Linked DNA regions of Homo sapiens: region 1 is linked to region 2. Evidence: promoter capture Hi-C in human tissues and cell types (Jung and others, 2019). All regions are on one chromosome and are shown on one strand. The core of a region is centred on a gene start or on the middle of the fragment in contact, and the rest is flanking DNA. Distances in the headings are between cores, read along the strand shown.

Region 1 (5,918 bases), core at 3,257-5,756, 170 kb before region 2:
CAAGACAATCCTGGCTAACACGGTGAAACCCGTCTCTACTAAAAATACAAAAAATTAGCCGGGCGTGGTGGCAGGCACCTGTAGTCCAAGCTACTTGGGAGGCTGAGGCAGGAGAATGGCATGAACACGGGAGGCAGAGCTTGCAGTGAGTGGAGATCATGCTACTGCACTCCAGCCTGGGTGACAGAGCGAGACTCCATCTCAAATTAAAAAAAAAAAAAAAGAGAGAGAGAGAGAAAGAAAGAGAAAAAGAAAAGAATAGAAGAGAAGGAAGGGAGGGAGGGAGGAAGGAAGGAAGGGAAAGAAAGAGAGAGAGGGAGAGAGGGAAAGAGAGAGAGACAGAAAGAGAGACAGAAAGAGAAAAAAGAGAAAGAAAGAGAAAGAAAGAAAAGAAGGAAAGAGAGAAAGGAAAGGAAAGAAACAAAGAAAAAGGAGGGAGGGAGGGAAGGAAGGGAGGGAGGGAGGAAGGAAGGAAGGAAGGGGAAAGAAAGGAAAGAAATCATTTTCTGCCCCAGCGTCATAAAGATCTTCCCATACGTATTCTACATTTTTTGAGTCTTGTCATTTGCAGTCATGTCTTGACTTCTCTTGGAACTGATTTCTGAGTGTGGAGTAAGATAAAGTCCAATCGCATATTTTGTCCATGGGGATGATCTATTGTCCCAATACCCTGTAATGAAACTCACAAAGCAAGTTTTCATGCATGTGTGGATTTAACAGCAAGCATAGACCAACCAGAAGTCAAGCAGTGCTGCTGGATGTCTGCCCACCTGGAAGTCTGGTCTAGGATCTCTCTTCTGTCCCAGAGGCTGATCTATTCCTGGTAGAAGCTTTGTGCTAATCGTTTACATCTGCCAACACCAGTCACTCATCTTGCTCTGCTTCACAAGCATCTGACTTATTCTTTGCTTTCTTCTCAGCTTTTTGGGTTGCATGGAGAAACTCAGTTGGGACTTAGATTGGAATTGCATTGAATCTATAAACCAAATCAGGAGAATGAGCATCTTTTGTGATTGAATCTTTCAAAGTGAACATACAGTGAATAATTCCATTTATCTATCTTTCAGCAAAGCTTATAACTTTGGGATTTTTTTCTAGATGCTTTGAGTATTTGGTGCTGTGGATAAGTGGCCTATTTATTTGGGGGACAGGGTCTGACTCTGTCACCCTTTCTGGAGTGCAGTGGTGCAATCATACCTCATTATAGCCCCAACCTCCCTGGCTCAAGTGATCCTCTTGCCTCAGCCACCCCAGTAGCTGGGACTACAGGTTTATGTCACCATTCTTGACTAATTTTTTATTTTTTGTAGATACGGGGTCTCCCTATGTTGCCCAGGCTGGTCTTGAACCCCTGGGCTCAAGCGATCCTCTTGCCTCATCTCCCAAAGTGCTGGGATTACAGTCGTAAGCCACTGTGACCAGCATCTATCAAGCTTTCTCAACTTTTTGTAAACCCAATAATTAGATGTGCACATTCTTTGGGAGTTTATTGCGTATGAGGATGTTATCTGCAAATAAAGACACTCTTTTTTTTTTCTTTTTCCTTTTTTTTTTTTTTTTTGAGGCAGGGTCTCGCTCTGTCACCCAGGCTGGAGTACAGTGGTGCGATCTTGGCTCACTGCAACCTCTGCCTCCTGGGTTCAAGCAATTCTTGTGTCTCAGCCTCCCACATAGCTGGGATTACCCTCCCCAGGCTCAGGTGATCCTCCCACCTTAGCCTCCTGAGTAGCCAGGACTACAGGTACACACCACCATGCCCAGCTAATTTTTTTTTTTTGAGATGGATTCTCACTCTGTCCCCCAGGCTGGAGTGCAGTGGCGCAATCTCGGCTCATTGCAACCTCCACCTCCCTGGTTCAAGCAATTCCCCTGCCTCAGCCTCCCGAGTAGCCGGGATTAGAGAAGGGACAAGAGTGAGTCCAGGTCAGGCAAGCCACCACGCCCAGCTATTTTTTGTATTTTTAGTAGAGATGGGGTTTCGTCACATTGGCCAGGCTGGTCTCGAACTCCTGGCCTCAAGGTCTCGAACGCCTTGGCCTCCCAAAGTGCTGAGATTACAGGCGTGAGCCACCGTGCCAGGCCTAAAGACACCCTTAATTCCTCCTTTCCACTCCTCAGAACTTTCATTTCTTGTTTTCTTTAGTAAAATGCGCAGCACCATGTTAACAGGCATTCCTGCCTTGTTCCAATTCTGAAAGAGAATGTTTCAACGTTCATCATTGATCATTTGGATCCAATTAATTTTTAAGCCCTGGTGCCTCATTTCATTCCCACCAACAGCATAGCTCGGCTGATTCGAAAGGTATTGATTTGAGCTGTCTCCTCCTCCCTCCAATTAATTATGCCATGCTGCTTCTGTCTTCTCTTGCCCTCTCTTCTCTGTGGCCCCCTCTTTTTTTTTTTAGACACAGTTTTCCTCTTGTCATCCAGGCTGGAGTGCAGTGGCATCATCTCAGCCTGCAACCTCCGCCTCCCAGGTTCAAGCGATTTTCCTGCCTTAGCCTCCCAAGTAGCTGGGATTACAGGCATGAGCCACCACACCTGGCTAATTTTGTATTTTTAGTAGAGACGGGGTTTCACCATCTTGGCCAGGCTGGTCTCGAACTCCTGACCTTACGTGATCCACCTGCCTTGGCCTCCCAAAGTGCTGAGATTACAGGCGTGAGCCTCCACACCCGGCCGGCCCCCTCTTTTATTTATTTATTTATTTACTTATTTTTGAGACAGTCTTTGTCACCCAGACTGAAGTGCAGTGACAAGATCTCGGCTCACTGCAACCTCCATGTGGCCCCCTCTTAACTTCATTCCCCTCCAGGTGCATCTGCATTTGGAGCCTTTGCAAACCCTGTGTGACTCTCTGTGTCTTTCCATCTCTCTTCTCTTGGCTTCCAATTTCATGCTTTCTCTCCACCACCCTAGGAAACCCACAAAGAAAAATAATGGAAAGAGAAGTGATGGGAGATAATGTACAGGCTGGTGAAAAGTACAACCCCCCCACCTGCAGAGTGAGGCTACCACTGCCAGCAAATGCAGACACATCATTCCTGCCTTGCTGAGCTCCAGGGCTTCCCCAGGGACCCTGCTCTTATCAAAACCTGCCCACCCCCGGTGCCAAAAGCAGCGATGAAAACATCTGGGCTTTAGATGAGAAGAGTTTCACGGCACAGCATCTGTCCAGCTCAGCTTTTGAATGGAGAATGAATGGTAAGAGCTTTTTTTCTTCTTTTTGTGAGATGGTGTCTCACTCTGTCGCCCAGGCTGGAGTGCAGCGGCACAATCACGGCTCACTGCAGCCTCGACCTCCCCAGGCTCAGGTGATCCTCCCACCTTAGCCTCCTGAGTAGCCAGGACTGCAGGTACACACCACCATGCCCAGCTAAGTTTTTTTTTTTTTTTTTGAAATGGAGTCTCTGTCGCCCGGGCTGGAATGCAATGGCGCAATCTCGGCTCATTGCAACCTCCACCTCTCTGGTTCAAGCAATTCCCCTGCCTCAGCCTCCCGAGTAGCTGGGATTACAGGCGCACGCCACCACACCCAGCTAATTTTTTTTGCATTTTTAGTAGAGAAGGGGTTTCACCATGTTGGCCAGGCTGGTCTCAAAGTCCTGACCTCAGGCAATGTGCCCCCTTCGGCCTCCCAAAGTGCTGGGATTACAGGCATGAGCCACCGCGCCCGGCCCCAGCTAATTTTTTGTACTTTTGTAGAGATGAGGTTTCATCGGGTTTCCCAGTCTGCTCTTGAACTCCTGGGCTCCAGCAATCCTCCCACCTTGGCCTCCCAAAGTGCTGGGATTACAGGCATAAGGTACCCGCACCCGGCTGGGCAGAGCTTTTTCTAGCAGCCCCAATCCAAGGCAAACTTGCTTGGTCTTCAGATAAATTCCCAGTCCTTACGGGGTGCATTTGATGTTCCTGGCACTGTGCAAAGCTCCATGGAGTAGACGGATACCGATGAGACGTCAATTTGTTCAGCCAGCGTTTGCTGGTGCCATCTGGATGCTGGGAACTAAGCTTGTCACCAGGTTCTGCCAGGCGACATTGTCCCTAGCATGGGAAGTGGGAATGAACAAGCAGGCAGAGGAAGTCAAGGACGATTATGAGGCGATGGGAAGGGTCTGGTGACAGAGAGGGATGGAAGGGGTGGGGGAATCTGCTTCCCGGAGGAGGCAACACGAGAGCCAAGATGTAAAAGAGGTGGAGCCAGGCAGGGAGAGAGATGAGGGACAGGCATTCACAGGACAGGTGCAAAGGCCCTGAGGTGAGGCTGTGCCTGGTGTGTTGGAGAAGCCGAGAAGGCTTGTGTGAATGAGTGAGGGGGAGAGAGGAAAAGAGAGAAAGGGGACCGGACATGGTGACTCACCCCTGTAATCCCAGCACTTTGGGAGGCCAAGGCGGGCAGATAACCTGAGGTCAGGAGTTCGAGAGCAGCCTGCCCAACATGGTGAAACCCCGTCTCCACTAAAAAATTACAAAAATTAGACAGGGGTGGTGGTGCACGCCTGTAGTCCCAGGTACTCCAGAAGCTGAGGCAGGAGAATCACTTGAGCCTGGGAGGCAGAAGTTGCAGTGAACAGAGATTGTGCCACTGCACTCCAGCCTGGGCAAAACAGCGAGACTCTGTTTCAAAAAAAAAAAAAAGAAGAAGAAGAAGAAGAAGAAGAATAGAGAGAAAGGGAACTGCGGGGGAAGGTCATTCAGGGCCTCAGGGCAGGGGATGGAGAAGGCTCTGGAATTTACTCTGAGATGGACAGACAGAGAGATGGAGAGAGAGTGACTGAGAAGGAAGAAGAGATGGGGGTTCAGCTCTGCAAGACAGGGCTGAGACTCCAGCCCAAGCCTAAGTGGCCACTGAGGTCTTGTTCTAACCCGTGTCTCCCCACCCCCAGACCTCTCTCTGATGCCCCCAACTGCACTGGCAGGGAGTGACCACCTTGAACGGAAAACGGAATCAGAACACTGTGGGCACTCCATAAACATGAGTGAGTCAGTACGTGGTGGAGGGAGTGAGGGAGGGATGGAGTCGGGGGCGGGGAGGGGGGCAGGTCAGCAGGGATACAGACTATGCCAGGCCTCCTGATCACAGGAAAGAGTGTGGGCTATACTATGAGGGTAATAGGGAGCCACGGGAGGGCTTTGAGCAGAGGAAGGGCGTGATCTGCTTTATGATTTTTTTTTTTTTGAGATGGAGTCTCGCTCTGTCGCCCAGGCTGGAGTGCAGTGGCGCGATCTCGGCTCACTGCAAGCTCTGCCTCCCGGGTTCACGCCATTCTCCTGCCTTAGCCTCCCAAGTAGCTGGGACTATAGGTGCCCACCACCACGCCCAGCTAAATTTTTTTGTATTTTTAGTAGAGACGGGGTTTCATATGTTAGCTAGGATGGTCTCGATCTCCTGACCTCGTGATCTGCCCATCTTGGCCTCTCAAAGTGCTGGGATTACAGGCGTGAGCCACCGCTCCCGGCCTGCTTTATGATTTTAAGAATCCATCTGGGGCTCCCTAGGGGAGCAAGGATGGCTGGGGGCAGGAGTGTAGGTGGCAGGGAGCCAGGACAGCATCCACACAAGATACAGCAGGCCCCTTAGGAGCTCAGGGAGGCTCAGTTTCATTCTGGAGCCGGAGACTGCAGGACCTGCTGATGCACTGAACATGCAGGGTAAGGAAAGAGAAGGGACAAGAATGAGTCCAGGTCAGGTGCAGTGGCTTATGTCTGTAATCCCAGCACTTTGGGAGGCCGAGGCGGGAGGATTCCTTGAGGGAGACCAGGATTTTGAGATCAGCCTGGGCAACAGAGTGAGACCCCATCTCTACAAAAATTTTTAAATGAGCTGGGCATGGTGGTGTGTGCCTGTAGTCCCAGCTACTCAGGAGGCTGCAGTGGGAGGACTGCCTGAGCCAAGGAGATGGAGGCTGCAGTGAGCT
Region 2 (6,400 bases), core at 1,188-3,687:
TCGGCAGGGCTTTGCAAGTAGGGGATCCCGCTCGGATCTCCCATTGATTGATTGATTGATTGATTGAGACAGTCTCGCTCTGTCGCCAGGCTGGAGTGCAGTGGCACGATCTCGGCTCACTGCAACCTCCGCCTCCCGGGTTCAAGCGATTCTCCTGCCTCAGTCTCCCGAGTAGCTGGGACTACAGGCGCGTGCCATCACGCCCGGCTAATTTTTGTATTTTTAGTAGAGACGGGGTTTCACCACGTTGGCCTGGATGGTCTCGATTTCCTGACCTCGTGATCCGCCCGCGTCGGCCCCCCAAAGTGCTAGGATTACAGGCGTGAGCCACCGCGCCCAGCCTTGATTTTTATTTATTTATTTGTTTATTTATTTATTTTTTGAGACGGAATCTCTCTCTGTCGCCCAGGCTGGAGTGAAGTGGCGCGATCTCGGCTCACTGCAACCTCCACCTCCCGGGCTCAAGCGATTCTCCCGCCTCAGCCTCCCAAGTAGCTGGGATTACAGGCGGCCGCCACCACGCCCGGCTAATTCTTGTATTTTTAGTAGAGACGGGGTTTCACCATGTTGGCCAGACTGGTCTTGAACGGATCTCAAGAGACCCGTCCGCCTCGGCCCCCCAAAGTGCTGGGATTACAGGAGTGAGACACCGCACCCGGCCGGATCTCCCCTTTTCCAACGGGGTTTCCAGGAGGATGCCTGACCAGGGTGGAAGGAGAAAGAACTAGGTGCCTAACCCACTCTCCTGGCGAGGGCAGGAGGTACGCTCCAGCCGGCAACAGGTGCCCGCGTAGCCGCCGCAGTGTCACAGCCCCGGGGGAGGGACAGGTCCACCCTGCACAGCAGAGAGGGAGCAAGAGGACTGTCCGGGGGTTACGTGGGGACGCGTTGAGAAACGCTGGACCCAGCTGGAGCGGCCAGGGCAGAGGGTAGGCCAGAGGAGGCCACCAGGGAGCAGCAGAGGCTGGCGAGAAGCGCTCAAAAGCCCTTTTTTTTTTTTTTTTTTTTTTTTTGGAGACGGGGTCTTGCTGTGCTGCCCAGGCTGGAGTGCTGTGCAGTTCTCGACCACAGCTCATTGCAGCCTCGAACTTCCACGCTCAAGCGATCCTCCCACTTCAGCCTCCTGAGTAGCTGGGATTACAGGCATGTGCCACCACGCCTCGCTAATATTTGTATTTTTCATACAGACAAGATCTCACTATGTTGCTCAGGGTAGTCTCGAATTCTGGGACTCAAATGATCCTCCCACTTCAGCCTCCCAAAGTGCTGGGATTACAGGCATAAGCCATCATGCCCGGCCTCTGACGCTGTTTCTTTCAACCCCCAGGATTTCAGATTCCACCAGCTTATGGAGAAGGGAACCAAGTTTGAGATGCGTGATTGCCCAGAAAGTTGGAGGCTGAGCTGAGACTTGAACCCAGAGACCAGAACCTCCAGAGGTCAAAGTCCTCCTGGGTCCCCCAGAGAAGGGCCCTGAGATGACAGCTCGTTGGTCCTCATGGAAGCGTGACCCCCCCAGTAGACTTTCTCCCACACCCAACCTTGGTTTCCTCATCTATATGATAGGGACAAGCCAGACTCTACCTCCCTGGTGGTCATGGTCTCCGCTTATTCGGGTTCATAACCTTAAAGGCCCCTCGCACCACCTCAGTGAGCCATTTATGCCTGGCACAGGGCCAACTCTCAGTGCATATCTGCAAAGGAACCAATGAATGAATGAATGAAGTGACAAATGAATAAAGGAATAAATGAATGAGGCACTTATCATGTACCAGGCTTTCGTTACCACGTCCCATTTATTCCTCTGAGGCAGGGTCTATTTTATCCTTGTTACAGATGGGGAAACTAAGGCCCAGGGAGGAGCAAAGTCTTCCCCAAGTATGTACCCACTCAGAACTTGAGCTCTGAATGTCTCCCACCCAGCTTAGCCCAAGAGCGGGGTTCAGTGATGCCCACCCCCTAAGGCTCTAGAGAAAGGGGGTAGGCCCACATGCCAGTTTGGGGGTGGTAAAGCCAGGTAAGTTTTCTTTATGGGTCCCCTGAAACCCTGAAAGTGAACCCCAGTCCTGCATGAAAGTGAGCTCCCCATAGCTCAAGGTATTCAAGCACAATACGGCTTTGAGTGCTGAAGCAGGCTGTGCAGGCTTGGATAGTGACATGCCCTCTCTGAGCCTCAATTTCCCCACCTGTCAACAGCAGACAGTGACAGCTGTGATCAGGGGATCACAGTGCATGGGGATGGGTGGGTGCATGGGGATGGAGGGGCATTTGGGAGCCCTCCCCGATACCACCCCCTGCAGCCACCCAGATAGCCTGTCCTGGCCTGTCTGTCCCAGTCCAGGGCTGAAAGGGTGCGGGTCCTGCCCGCCCCTAGGTCTGGAGGCGGAGTCGCGGTGACCCGGGAGCCCAATAAATCTGCAACCCACAATCACGAGCTGCTCCCGTAAGCCCCAAGGCGACCTCCAGCTGTCAGCGCTGAGCACAGCGCCCAGGGAGAGGGACAGACAGCCGGCTGCATGGGACAGCGGAACCCAGAGTGAGAGGGGAGGTGGCAGGACAGACAGACAGCAGGGGCGGACGCAGAGACAGACAGCGGGGACAGGGAGGCCGACACGGACATCGACAGCCCATAGATTCCTAACCCAGGGAGCCCCGGCCCCTCTCGCCGCTTCCCACCCCAGACGGAGCGGGGACAGGCTGCCGAGCATCCTCCCACCCGCCCTCCCCGTCCTGCCTCCTCGGCCCCTGCCAGCTTCCCCCGCTTGAGCACGCAGGGCGTCCGAGGACGCGCTGGGCCTCCGCACCCGCCCTCATGGAGGCCGTGGAGACCGGGGAACGGCCCACCTTCGGAGCCTGGGACTACGGGGTCTTTGCCCTCATGCTCCTGGTGTCCACTGGCATCGGGCTGTGGGTCGGGCTGGCTCGGGGCGGGCAGCGCAGCGCTGAGGACTTCTTCACCGGGGGCCGGCGCCTGGCGGCCCTGCCCGTGGGCCTGTCGCTGTCTGCCAGCTTCATGTCGGCCGTGCAGGTGCTGGGCGTGCCGTCGGAGGCCTATCGCTATGGCCTCAAGTTCCTCTGGATGTGCCTGGGCCAGCTTCTGAACTCGGTCCTCACCGCCCTGCTCTTCATGCCCGTCTTCTACCGCCTGGGCCTCACCAGCACCTACGAGGTACCGGACAGAGGCCCGGGGGTAGGACCTGCCCCACTGGCAGTGCTGGGACCCCGTGTGGGGGAGGCGCTGGGGCTTTGGGCCGCTGTACAGGAGGACGCGGATGGCACCTCGGTGCTTTAACGGAAGGGGCCCCTAGGCAGACACGTGGGGAGGGTTCTAGGAAGAGGCCCCAGGCGCCCGGCGAGGGGCAGGAAGGAGGAAGAGAGAGCCTGGCGTCCTGCTCCTTCGGTGGAAGCGCGCGCGGGGCGGGGCCCGGCTCGACCAGGTGTGTCCTCACGGGTGGACACACACCTGCCCCCCACCTGCCCGGGCGTGCAGACCCACGTGTGCGCGCTAGAGGGGACTGCTGACGGCTCCGGGGTTCGAAACCTGGCTTCACTGCTTTCTTGTATCTTGGGCAAGGGGCGTGCCTCTCTGTTTGGGTTTCCCAGCTGTCCAATGGGCGAATTACAGGACCTCCCTCCAGGGGAGAGGGTAAAGCGATTAAAATCGTGACCGGGGCCCGGTGCGGTGGCTCACGCCTGTAATCCCAGCACTTTGGGAGGCCAAAGCATGCAGATCACCTGAGGTCAGGAGTTCAAGACCAGCCTGGCCAACATGGCGAAACCCCGTCTCTACTAAAAATACAAAAATTAGCCGGATGTGGTGGTGGGCACCTGTAATCCCAGCTACTTGGGAGGCTAAGACAGGAGAATTGCTTGAACCCGGGAGGTTGCAGTGAGCCGATATCGCGTCACTGCACTCCAGCCTGGGCGACAGAGCGAGACTCTTGTCTCAAAGGAAAAAAAAATATTGTGGCAGGGCGCAGTGGCTCACGCCTGTAATCCCAGCACTTTGGGAGGCCGAGGTGGGTGGATCACGAGGTCAGGAGTTCAAGACCAGCCTGGCTAACATGGTGAAACCCCGTCTTTACTAAAAATACAAAAATTAGCCGGGCATGGTCGCGCGCGCCTGTAATCCCAGCTACTCAGGAGGCTGAGGCAGAAGAATTGCTTGAACCTGGGAGGCGGAGGTTGCAGTGAGCCGAGATCGTGCCAGTGCACCCTAGCCTGGGCGACAGAGCGAGACTCCGTCCCCCCTCCCCCCCAAAAAAATCGTGACAGGTATATCCTAGGCGGCCAACACCATTGGCCCGGGGCACTGTCTACACTGTGCGCTTGCGGGCCACGTCGGTGTCTGCTGAGCGGTGGCTGCTCCAGGAGCCCGCGCCCGTCAGGCGCAAGTGGGAGGGCGCGTGCACACGCATGGACCAGTCCTCCAGGTCCACGGGGTACGCACAGGCACGGGATGGCACCTGTGCACGGGTGTGTGCGTGCGGCGGGGCCCCCACGTGCAAGAATCTGGCGGGCGCGGTTGGCTTCCGGAGGGAGGGGCCCACCTAGAGAGCAGACCAGGGACCCGAGAGGCCTCGGCTCCTGGGTAAGGACTGTCCAGGTGACCTCGAGTCCCTCCTTGCAGTACCTGGAGATGCGCTTCAGCCGCGCAGTGCGGCTCTGCGGGACTTTGCAGTACATTGTAGCCACGGTGAGTGGCCTCGGCCCCGCCCTCCGCTCAGGGCCCCGAGAGCGTCAGCCTTCACTAGCCCGGCCCCCACCATTCAAGACCCCGCCCAGACCCCGCCCCCCATGCTCCCGTTCTGACCCCGCCCCCATCAGTCCCCTCCCACACCACAGCCGGCCTGACCCCGCCTGCACTCTGGAAGACCCGGCCTATCTGCCCCGCCCATATTCTGGGACCACCCTTCTGCCTCCTCTCCCCATCCCCAACTCGCCCAGACGCCCTCCCTGCTCACCCGCCCCACACTCTGTCTACAGATGCTGTACACCGGCATCGTAATCTACGCACCGGCCCTCATCCTGAACCAAGGTGTGACTCTGGGAGATTAGGGAAGCATGTCTGGGAAGAGAAAGGGAGGGAGAGGAGAACCCAAGACTAAGTTTGCGCCCCGCCCAGGGGCCTAACAGGGGGACCTCTTTTTGCATAGTGACCGGGCTGGACATCTGGGCGTCGCTCCTGTCCACCGGAATTATCTGCACCTTCTACACGGCTGTGGTGAGTGGCCCTGGGAACTCACTCCATACGGGGGATCGGGCCCACTGTGTCTCTTGTGGGGAGACTCTGGGCTTGCCCCTTTCTCCTGAGGAAGCCTCTGTCCCAGCTGGGACCCAGTGTCCTCATCTTTATAGTGAAAAATGATCTGAAAAGCTTATTGCTGAGAATCTAGAGGTATGGTAGCTTCAGGCATGGCTGGATCCAGGCTTCCACCTCTTCTGGCTTCCAGTCCAGCAGGAAGTGAGCTCCTGCTTCATCCTGGGGCTGGCTGAGGTCCCAGGGAGGGCTACCTTTGGCTGGCTCAGGTCTGACCTTGATGGCGATATTATCATCGTAGTGATAATAATAGTAATGGCGGCCGGGCGCGGTGGCTCACGTCTGTAATCCCAGCACTTTGGGAAGCAGAGGCAGGCGGATCACCTAAGGTCAGGAGTTCGAGACCAGCCTGGCCAACATGATGAAACCCCGTCTCTACTAAGAATACAAAAATTACCTGGGCGCAGTGGCACGCGCCTGTAATCCTAGCCTCTCAGGAGGCTGAGGCAGGAGAATCGCTTGAACCCGGGAGGTGGAGGTTGCGGTGCGTGGAGATTGCGCCATTGCACTCCAGCCTGGGCGACAGAGCAAGACTCCATCTCAAAAAAATATAATAATAATAATAATAATAGTAATGGCAGCAATCACTCACTGACACTCGTATATGTCAAGTCATATTCCAAATCTTTTTCACTTATTAACTTGTTTAATTCTACTGGGCACAGTGGCTCATACCTGTAATCCCAGCACTTTGAGAGGCCAAGGTAGGAGGATCACTTGAGGCCAGGGGTTCGAGACCAGCCTAGGCAACATAGTGAGACCCCCCCCCGCCCCCATCTCTACAAAAAAAATTTTTTTTAAATTAGTCGGGCATGGTGGCACCTGCTGTAGCTCCAGCTACTCCGGAGGCTGAGGCAGGAGGATCACTTGAGCCTAAGAGTTCCAGTCTGCAGTGAGCTGTGATCACACCACTGCACTCCAGCCTGGGCAAAAGACAGAAACCTTTTCTTTAAAAATAAAATAACTAACTTAATTCTTACAACAACACAGTAAGAAGGTATTATTATTAATCCCACTTTAGAGAGGAGGAGACTGAGGCATAGAAGGGCATCAGTCCTAGGCACCACTGAAGGCCAGGTC

The links. Contacts are between HindIII fragments. The study calls those that stand out against the background at their distance.
Region 1: a fragment that was not itself captured here is called in contact with the fragment with the promoter of SLC5A5 in region 2 in 2 of the 25 tissues and cell types used here (lymphoblastoid cells and spleen).

What each region holds. Positions count from the first base shown.
Region 1 is chr19:17,695,067-17,700,984 of GRCh38, forward strand. No RefSeq gene overlaps it. Among named protein-coding and RNA genes, the nearest start is that of UNC13A, 9.7 kb to the left of the region's middle. The HindIII fragment of the contact is 6,509 bases long and covers 1,253-5,918 here.
Region 2 is chr19:17,869,508-17,875,907 of GRCh38, forward strand. It overlaps SLC5A5 (solute carrier family 5 member 5), which reads left to right and starts at 2,438. Exons shown (of 15, transcript NM_000453.3): 1 at 2,438-3,169; 2 at 4,631-4,696; 3 at 4,987-5,038; 4 at 5,157-5,224. The coding sequence starts at 2,813. RefSeq lists enhancers at 1-560, 4,208-4,980 and a silencer at 4,773-4,902. The HindIII fragment of the contact is 15,663 bases long and covers 342-6,400 here.